Linked DNA regions of Homo sapiens: regions 2 and 3 are each linked to region 1. The links are contacts of gene promoters, found by promoter capture Hi-C in blood cells and fetal thymus (Javierre and others, 2016). All regions are on one chromosome and are shown on one strand. Each heading gives the region's core, a stretch centred on a gene start or on the middle of the fragment in contact. The rest is flanking DNA. Distances are from core to core; before and after follow the strand shown. Region 1 overlaps SND1 (staphylococcal nuclease and tudor domain containing 1). Region 2 holds the start of HILPDA (hypoxia inducible lipid droplet associated). Region 3 holds the start of IMPDH1 (inosine monophosphate dehydrogenase 1).

Region 1 (3,294 bases), core at 520-3,019:
ATACAATTACCATATAATCCAGCAATTCCATTTTTGGGTACAAACTCAAAATAATTGAAAACAGGGTCTCAAAGAGATATTTGTATAACCATGTTGATAGCAGCATTGTTCATAATAGTTAAAATGTAGAAGCAACCCAAGTGTGTCCCCATGGACACATGAACAGGTTGTAAGCAAAATGTATACACATACAATGGAATATTATTTACCCTTAAAAAGGAAGAAAATTCTGACTCATCCAACAACATGGATGAACCCTGAGGACACTATGCTAAATGAAATAAGACAGTCACAAAGACACAGACTGTCTGATTTCACTTATATGAATTACTTAGAGTAGTCAAAATCACAGAAGCAAAAAGTAGAATTGTGGTTGCCAGGGCCTGGAAGAGGGGAAACAGAGGGATGTAGAGTTATTGCTTAATGAGTATAGTTTCAGTTTTATAAAATGAAGAGTTGTAGAGATATGTGGTGGTGATAGCTACATAGCAATATGAATATAAATACCACTGAACTGTACACTTAAAAATCGTTAAGATACTACATATTATGTTATGAATTTTGTCATTATAAACAATTTGAGGAAAAAAATTCTCAGAGACATGATAATGAACTCCATCTAGAGCTATGACTGGAAGCACAGCAAAAAACTATCAGGGTAAATAAAACCAAATACATTTTAAAATCTACTGTACCCATGGACAGTTTATATCCTGATCTCCAAAACTGGACTTGGCCACCAATGCCAGTTAACCACTTACTGCTCCCAGACAAAGCCCTAGCAGGTAAGCTCCTTGAAGGCAGGAACCACTTCTAGTTATTTTACATCTTTTCAAAGCACCTAGTTCAGGGCTCTGCTTAATCTATATATAGGTACAGAGGACCAAGCAAGAAGCCTCTAACCAGGTAGGGTGGTAAGGAGACACCTCTTGAGGACATGATTCCACTCCATCCCTCCCCCACCCCCCACAACAATGTTATTCAGGTCTGTGAAATCTGCAATGCCCAAGGATCCAGCAGCAGGAACAGGGAAGCCAAGCCACGTGCTCAGGGGACCATATGGCTACAAACAGCACAGATCAGCTAAAACGCCACAGGGAAGGCAGGGAGGGAACTGGCAGGCCACGACGGGCACAAAAGTCTCGGGCAAGCTCAGCTAATCGCTGTGAAGTGAACATGCTTCTCTGCTAACCTGGAAAGACAAGGAGAGCCCTTCCTTTGCATTTCATTCCTCAAGAAGTAAAACTGCTTAAGCAGACAAAGGGAACCAGTCTCTCAATAGGCCACATGTATCAGAGAATACTTTGTCAAGTTTCACATTTCTCAGGCTTAATAAGCCTCTTGGCACTCTGACCTACAGCTTTGCCTCAGTTCCAGAAATCAACTGTAGAGCCCCAGAGGCATCCAGTTAGAGGCCATAGGTTACCCTTTGCAGGCTTTTGAGGCTTTTAGCGGGGCCCTGTACAATTAATTCCTAAAAAACAGGGTGATTGTTGAAGAGAGAATCACTATTTGTTAAGGCTTCACAATCACATGATCTTGAAAGCAGAATCACTCAGGGAAGACTTGCAGGACTTTCAGACTATGTGAAGGTCCCAGGTATCTTAGAACTTTTTTAGGATTCCCTGAAAAAAGCTGTTTGCCACTAACAGATATTTTAAATCAGGTAAAATGATACAGAACTGCTGTTGAGTTCCAGGTTATGAAAAGTAATGCATGTATTTTTTTCCATTTTTAACTTAATGTTGCTATCCAGTGTTCTACAAGAAAGGCTGGCAAACTATGGCCCAAGGGCCATCCAGCCCACTTCATATTGTTATAAAGTTTTCCTGGAATATTGCCACAACCATTCATTTACACACTGTCCATGTCTGTTCTCCTGCTACCATGGCAGGGTTCAGTAGTTGCAACAGAGACCACATGGCCACCAAGCCTAAAATATTTACAATGTGGTCCTTTAAGAAAAAGCTGTCCAATCCCTGTTTTACAACATATTAGAAAATGAACACACTTAGTGGTATATACTGGTTAACATTTCTAAAGACATGTTTGGCAAATGTGAGCCAAATAATTTCTAAGGAAATAACTGCCAATTACTTGGAGATTTATTCCACTTTCTAAATAACGAAAAAAATTCTCAACTACATGAATATAAACCTATTAGAGACTGGTCAAAAATATTATGTTGCAGCCTACAATGAAATATTACACATCAATTAAAGAAGTAAGCTCTTTATTTTGGGTCCCTCTCTAAACACCTCTAGATAAAAGGGATCTGTAAAACGTATCTATACATAAGCCCAAAAGGAAGAAGATAATGAGAGAGAACACTGCAACAAAACCCTGGAAGCTGGAAAGCAGATGGATGAGTAGTAACTTACTCCACTGACTCACAAAAGCTAAATCCTGAGACAGTGGCGAGAAAACACAATAGGCAATCTGATTTATACCGCAGTCCCACTCTCCCTAATCTGCCAAGACTCAGAAACTGTCAAATCAAGCATCTCAATTGGGAATGAAAATGGGACCAAAAATGATGGATGGTTTCAAATCTTTGTAAGAAGCAGATGGATTTCAAGATGTATACCCTGGCCAGGCATGGTGGGTCACACCTATAATCCCTGCAACTTTGGGAGCTCAAGGTGGGAGGATCACTTGAGCCCAGGAGTTCAAGACCAGCCTGGGCAACATAGGGAGACCTCATCTCTACAAAAAATTTAAAAATTAGCCAGGTGTGTTAGCGTGCACCTGTAGTCCCAGCTATTCGGGAGGCTGAGGCACGAGGATCGCTTAAGCCCATGAGCTTGAAGCTGCAGTGAGCTGTGATGGCACCACTGCACTCCAGCCTGGGTGACAGAGCAAGACCCTGTCTCAAAAACAAACAAGCAAATATGTATACCCTAAATCCCACACTAGGGTCATTGCTTCTAAACTCAGTGTTTTAATATCTTATTCTCAAATAAGACAGAAAACCAAGACTCAGCAAATATCTGAGGAAAGCCTCTAATATGAAAAATAAGGGACCAAAATAACCCAAGAAGGGGAGAGGAGAGGCTTGAAGAACATAGTGAGTGCGCAGTAAAAATGAAACTAAAAAAAAAAAAATCAATTTCGCAGAAAGCTAAGAGATGATTTTTATCTCTGAAGTCAGTATAAAACTTTATTTTTTAAAATAGTAAAAGAGAAACATGCAGAGAACAAAAAAAGTTCTTAAAAAATAAAACAGTATCATGTCAATAAAACTACTGAAAGGTAACTATAAAGAAATCTAAAAAGAATAGAAGATGAGACAGA
Region 2 (3,294 bases), core at 302-2,801, 740 kb before region 1:
CCTTGGTGGGCTCTGTGTTGGCTAGTTGGCTTCTGGTGGTCCAGGAGGTCCCAGGCGATGGGCTCTCTAGTAAGCCCTCTAGGGACTCCATCACTCTAACGAAGATGGAGAGTAGGGTCAGTACCACACCTAACAGGTAGAGGTTCAACACATGCTTCATGGCTGAAAGGACCCTACTCCTCTGCAGAGAAACAGAGCTGCCTTCTCCTTCTGAAAGGCCTCTGGACCCTGAGAAAAAAGAGGAAAGGATGAATCTATAGCCTTTTGGGGATATGCATGCATCCAGCCCTGACTCTTCTGTCCTCTCACAGGGCTGAAGGAGAGGCTTAGCCAGTGAGGGACACAGGGACCAGGGAGTTGCACAGCAACTCTCCAAGAATATTTTACATTGCAAACTTCATGGCTGCGGAGCCAGTGTTGCTTCTTGGACTAATTCAAGAACACTTCTTAAAACTTTTACTTTCTTAGGCCAGGCGCGGTGGCTCATACCTGTAATCCCAGCGCTCTGGGAGGCCGAGGCGGGTGGATCACCTGAGGTCAGGAATTCGAGACCAGCCTGACCAACATGGTGAAACCCTGTCTCTACTACAAATACAAAAATTAGCCGGGCATAGTGGCACATGCCTGTAATCCCAGCTACTCGGGAGGCTGAGGCAGAATTGCTTGAACCCGGGAGGCAGAGGTTGCAGTGAGCCAAGATCGCGCCATTGCACTCCAGCCTCGGCAACAAAAGCAAAACTCCGTCTCAAAAACAAACAAACAAACATTTACTTTATTGAAAATTTTGTTCCTGCAAGGCACAATACACAACCCCTGTGCTACAGTGCAGGCATCAGTCACCTTCCTGAAATAGGCCCAGTCCTTTTGCAGGGGGGTGGTGGGTAATGGGAAATATAAGAACATGCCCTGGAGAAAGGAACCTGCCTAGAAGTCTCTCCCACATCACAGATTGGAGTTAACTACAAACTTTTTGCAAGTCCAAATAACTCTATGAGGGTCAAATCTATCAAGTTCATTTATTTAACAAACATACCATGAATATCTGCAATGTGTTAGGTACCCTGGAAGATACTAGGGCCACATTGCAAACCTTATAGACAAAGGGTAGTTAACACGCAACACGCTAAGTGTTGGGACAGCAAGGAGATCGTGAAGGTGCTCTGGGAGGGCATGGCAGGGATGCCTAACTCAGCACCTGTGGGCGTGGGATGGGCCACGTGGATCCTAGTTAGGACCACCTTAGGACAAAACAGGGCTGACGGCTGAATGGGGACCCCAGATGGGGCGTGGGCGATCAGAGAGGATCCCGGCGGCGCACCCCCAGCCCTGGAACGCGAGGCTGCTAGCGCGGCGAGCACTCTAGCGATGGGGGTGGGGAGCCGGGGAAGCCCACAGGGCCGCTCACCTCCGGGGGAACAGCCGGGAGTGGATCGCCGGCTGTAGGAGCAGGTCGTGCAGGAGTCCGGAGGAAAGTCGGTTACTAAGCACCAGCGCAGAAGCTTCCCGCCACAAAACTCACCGGAGACAAAAGCGCCGTCAGCCGCAGAGCGCAGAGCAACGCCGCCCAGCCTCCGCCCCTTATAGCCGCGAGCACGCCCCAGGAGGGTACGCGCACGCGCACTGGAGGCCGCACGCACGCCCGGGACGCACACGACGTGGCGCACGTCCGCGGCCCCACCCCGCGGGCAACGGGGTTTGGGGATTGTCCCGGGTGCTCTCCCGCGGAGCTGTTTCCAAAAGTACACGTCGTGCGGTTTTGAGTCATTGTGTTCTGGAGTGAGACGAGGCGTGTGTATTAATCTCGACTGCCATCTCTGCTGTAGAAAACATTTGAAGGAGTCAGAGAGCACATATCCCTTCTCCCCAGTAGGTGAAAAACACCGATGGCCTTCGTGTCCGTGAAGCCCCGCCGTGAAGGGTGGGTTCTTCCCCAGAGATTTCGGGTGCACTAAATTGTCAGAGGGCACCAGACCCCTACCCCACTCGTTATTTTCTTCATTTCAAGGACTGAAGAGCTGGTTTTGTTTCACTTCATAGCTGTACCAAGATTCCAAATCCCGAGTTTCAGTTGCCATCGGTATCTCTGGAATGGTGAGGCCCTTGTGCAACATATTAAGCTCTGCAAGCTCTGCTTTCTATGAGAGTTTGTCGTGTCGCTTCAGAAAACGTGAAATACTCCTGGCCCTGGTGTGGGATCCTAACTGCATATGGGCAAGTCACTTGGTATTTAAATGGGCCTCGGTTTTCTCATCTGTAATGAAGACATTGGCCACTAGATGATTTTTCTTCTTCTTCTTCTTTTTTTTTTTTAAATAGAGACAGTCTCGCTATGTTGCCCAGGCTGGTCTCGAACTCCTGATCTCAAGCCATCCTCCCACCTCTGCCTCCCAAAGTGCTGGGGCTACAGGCGTGAGCCACCGCGCCCGGCCGCTAGATGATTTTTAAGGGTGCTTTCGGCTTGAACTAAAGAGCCAGGAGGTCACAGACCAGCCTTATGTCCAGATTTGGGGGGCTAGGCTGCCTTACTAATCACCCCCGAACCCACCCAGCCAAGACTGTGCGGTCTGTCTTGAGAGCACGCAACGGGGGATCTCAGAAAGTAGAGTCCCGGAGAGACACTGGGAATGGGGAGGACCCCCGGGAAGGGGTGTACACGCCGTGGAAGGGAAGGCCGCTGGTGGCTTTAGAACTGGCGGTTCCGTGTACCCGGGTCAAGTGCCCGTGCCGGATGGGAAAGAACCCTGTGACTTTCCACATCTCAGCGAGCTCGGCGGGCTCTGCTTAAGAAGGGCTCTAAGACGGGAAGGGAGGAGCCATCCCCACTGCGACCTTTCCCCTCCTTTCCTGGCTGGCTGGCTGTGGTCTGTCGGGAATGAGGGGGTGGGGAAGCCGGGAAAGCAGAAGGTTGGGGCTGGAGGTCTGCTGGCAGGCAGGCAGACATTTGGAGCCAACTTTCCTGCTCAGCCCGCAGAACTTTTGGTCCTTCGCTATACCAGAGTTTCGTCTGTTTTTTTGCTTGACTGTGTGACCCTTCTCTCACACTGTTATTAAATAGGTCTCAAGCTGCGAAATCACTGCCAGATCCAAACGCCACTACTTTGCCAGGTGAAGGCCTTGGGCGAACCCTTTAACCTTCTTGTAGTTCTGTTTCCTCAGCTGTTCTGTGAGATCATAACAGTCTTAACCTGATATTAAATGAATTAATCCATATAAAGCGCTTAGAACAATGCCTGGCACATAAAAAACATTCTATGAATCTTAACATTATCTGTATCATCAACTACAAAACTCCCA
Region 3 (3,294 bases), core at 321-2,820, 700 kb before region 1:
TAGACATGGAGTTTCGCCATGTTGGCCAGGCTGGTCTGGAACTCCTGACCTCAGGTGATCTGACCGCCTCAGCCTCCCGAAGTGTTGAGATTACAGGCATAAGCCACTGCGCCCAACCTAAATTTTAAAAAACTTAAATAAAAAAAGAATCCTGATTCTGGGGAGTGGGTGTGTATGTGCATAGGAAGAGGCACGATGAAGGATAAAGTCCAAGATCTTACTGTTGCATAAATTCAGCTTCCTTTGTGAAATCGTTGCTGAAAGTCTGACCCCTAATACATCTTAGCACTCCTCAATCACGCAGTGTTTACCATTTGTTCCCTCAGACTTGTCAGACAAAAGTCCAGATGCGCCGGGCGCGGTGGCTCACGCCTGTAATCCCAGCATTTTGGGAGGCCGAGGCGGGCGGATCACAAGGTCAGAAGATCGAGACCATCCTGGCTAACACGGTGAAACCCCGTCTGTACTAAAAATACAAAAAATTAGCTGGGCGTGGTGGCGGGCGCCTGTAGTCCCAGCTACTCTGGAGGCTGCGCCAGGAGAATGGCGTGAACCCGGGAGGCGGAGCTTGCAGTGAGCCGAGATCGCGCCACTGCACTCCAGCCTGGGCGACAGAGCGAGACTCCGTCTCAAATAAAATAAAAAATAAATAACATAACATAAAATAAAATAAAATAAAATTTCCAGATTCTTCTCGACTTAAAGATGGGGCTACCTCAGGGTAAATCCATCTGTAAGGTTGAAAAATCTTAAGTCAACCATTGTAAGTCGAGGACCATCTGTATATGGCATGAGAATTATCAGCTGTTTATTTTCATCTACTTTGTCTCCTGAAATAAATTGCCTGAGGGCAAGGACTCTTACATTTCTTTGCCATTTTTGCTAGGTGTTCAATCACCGTTCACAATGATAACAGTAGGAAAAAGTGCGCCTTCTAGTAAGTGGACAAACAAGTTTGAGTACACTGCTCTGCCCCACTCCCTTGTTACGGGGTAACATAACAAGGTAAAGTACCTCCACAACGAGGCAAGACTAGGTCCTGTTCCTTAAGGAGCCCGCAGCCTTGTCTGTTCTGTTCGTTCCCTGGCAGATTACAGGCTGTGGAGATCCCTCTCCCCGCTCTCTAACGTGGAGTCGGCTGAGCACGACTCTCTCGCCCCAGCGCGGGAGGTCTGCGGTCTGCGGGTATGAGGCGCTCCAGGGGACCTGGCATCGTCGGCGTGCAAGAGAGGAGCGGACCTGAGACGCAAGGAGAAGCCCTGCCTCTGGAGTCCAGCTCCTTTCCTCTTCTGGTTTTCCTCGGAAGGGGCCAGGAGACACTGGAAGGTCCGGACGGCAGGGAAGGGGACGGGGTTCTTTCCAGTCCCACCCGTGTAGGGACACCTCTCCCCCTCATCCCCCGATGTACCCTCGCTGAATCTGGGATGGGAGAGACGAACCGAGTCTAGGCATCTGCGTAGCAGCGCCGGGGAGAGCGGGGAGCCCAGGGCGGAGCCCAGTCGACTCCCGGATTCCCCTGCCCCGCCCCCGGCACGAGGCCCCGCCCCGGCGGCCCCGCCCCTCCTCGGGACTCGACCGGGCTGCGCTCACTGCCCAGCCGGGGCCCCGGGAGCCTCCAGGCTCCCGCCCGCCCTGAGCTGCGGCCTCCGCATGGAGGGGCCACTCACTCCACCACCGCTGCAGGGAGGCGGAGCCGCCGCTGTTCCGGAGCCCGGAGCCCGGCAACACCCGGGACACGAGACGGCGGCGCAGCGGTACAGCGCCCGACTGCTGCAGGCCGGCTACGAGCCCGAGAGGTGACGCCCAGGGCAGAGCGCGCGGGGCGCATCCGGGGCGGGCGGCCGAGGAGGGCGCGGCGGCTCCGGGAACCCGGCGACGCTGCGGGGGAGGGGCAGGCCCCACAAACCCTTCCCCTATTACCGCCTCAGCCTCTAACTTCCCGAAACGCCACGCTCCCGGCTTTGGTTGGGGGATGCAGACGGGCACTGTGCGAAGGGTTAGGTGCTTCGTTGCACGGGGGAGCGGAGGAGAGGGAACAGGTCGTAAAAACCTTCCCTAAAATCTTAGCCCTAGATTGGACCTCGCTACACACCCGACGACACCCCGTTCAGGTGGCTCCAACTCCTGGGGTTCAAACAGTGCTTGCTGGAGTCCTGTCCGACTGACTTGGCTTACCCCTCCTTAGCTGTTTCCTCCTAGAACTATCTTCAGTGGTCTTACTGGCAGGTGTTGGTGTCCAGATGGATCGCCTTCGCAGGGCTAGGTGAGGACACTCTCCCCTCCTCACCATGCACTGAGATCTGAGAGGCTGCCAGTGCAGCTCACCTCAAGGTCTCTCCGAAGACGCAGGCCCCCATGCTGGGGTCTGTAGGGGAATGAGGGACACTGGAGGAAGAGTAGGGTAGTGAGCTGGGCCCCAGGGGGACTGGCTGAAAAGGAGACAGCAGCTAATCTCTGGATTGTATCGCAGCTTGAAATGCAATCCCACTGTCCTTCCGGTCCAGAGGATTTGGACTTCTTTCTCTGCCCATCTGCTGGTGTTCAGCAGCTTGGGGAGGTGACCTGGCAGCTGGGTTAGATGGGGGTGGTCTGGGGGAATTAGCCCGGCAGCTCTGCCCAGGGGTTGGCCGCTTATGTAAGAACTTTTAACGGCTTAAGGGGCTCCTCGGCAGTGGGGCTGCTGAGTTAGGCCCCCCTGTCCTGGCAGGCTGCCTCTCTAGAATTGACTCAGGCTTAGGCAACTCCCAGCCTTTCTCCTGTCCTAGAAATCCAGCTCCTGGGGTTCAGGCCGCAGGGCGATAGGGAGGGGCCACAGGGGCTGAATGAGCCGGTTGGGGCTTGACAGAGGCAGTGCTTGGTTAGAGTAGGGGTTGCAAACATAATGTTTCAGAGCTCAGGCCGGAGCCATGTGAGTGCATCCTTTCTCCAGATTGCACTTCTGCATCAAGGGGCCATCCCTACCCCCACCCCCAACCGACCCGCACCCCCCACTTGGGCTCAGGGAGCCTGTGTAAACCTGAGCCCCAGCCAGGTGGTGTAGTGAGATTCAAAACCTGCTGGCCAGACCTCCACCTGCCTTCGCCAACCTGGAGCTGTGGGAAGAGGACAGGATTCTGTGAGCAGTCCTGGGTTTGAATCCAGTGTTATTGCTCTCTGGCTTGAACTTGGACAGGCTATGCCCCCGACCCAGCTCAACAGTGCTAATGTTACTACCTTTTCTGCCCTTCCCCCATCTTCCCCTCAAGAGTGTTTTGAAATCTTGTTCCTTCAAATAGCCCCAGGCCTGATAGAGCC

Evidence for each region. Contacts are between HindIII fragments. The CHiCAGO score rates a contact against its expected background, and 5 or more counts as called.
Region 2: a contact is called between the fragment with the promoter of HILPDA here and a fragment that was not itself captured in region 1, in 1 of 17 cell types (neutrophils). The highest score is 5.2, in neutrophils.
Region 3: the fragment with the promoter of IMPDH1 here is called in contact with a fragment that was not itself captured in region 1 in 1 of 17 cell types (neutrophils); the score reaches 5.1 in neutrophils.

What each region holds. Positions count from the first base shown.
Region 1 is chr7:127,711,756-127,715,049 of GRCh38, reverse strand. The region is part of intron 9 of SND1 (staphylococcal nuclease and tudor domain containing 1); the gene reads right to left. Among named protein-coding and RNA genes, the nearest start is that of SND1, 61 kb to the right of the region's middle. The HindIII fragment of the contact is 5,686 bases long and covers 1-3,294 here.
Region 2 is chr7:128,454,135-128,457,428 of GRCh38, reverse strand. HILPDA (hypoxia inducible lipid droplet associated) reads right to left here and starts at 1,551. Exons shown (of 2, transcript NM_013332.4): 1 at 1,406-1,551; 2 at 1-228. The coding sequence starts at 160. It also overlaps the pseudogene EFCAB3P1. RefSeq lists a silencer at 1,499-1,638 and enhancers at 1,739-1,908, 2,817-3,294. The HindIII fragment of the contact is 2,271 bases long and covers 1,502-3,294 here.
Region 3 is chr7:128,408,258-128,411,551 of GRCh38, reverse strand. IMPDH1 (inosine monophosphate dehydrogenase 1) reads left to right here and starts at 1,570. Exons shown (of 17, transcript NM_000883.4): 1 at 1,570-1,796; 2 at 2,068-2,111; 3 at 2,200-2,263. The coding sequence starts at 1,651. RefSeq lists an enhancer at 914-1,153 and a silencer at 1,424-2,043. The HindIII fragment of the contact is 8,032 bases long and covers 1-3,294 here.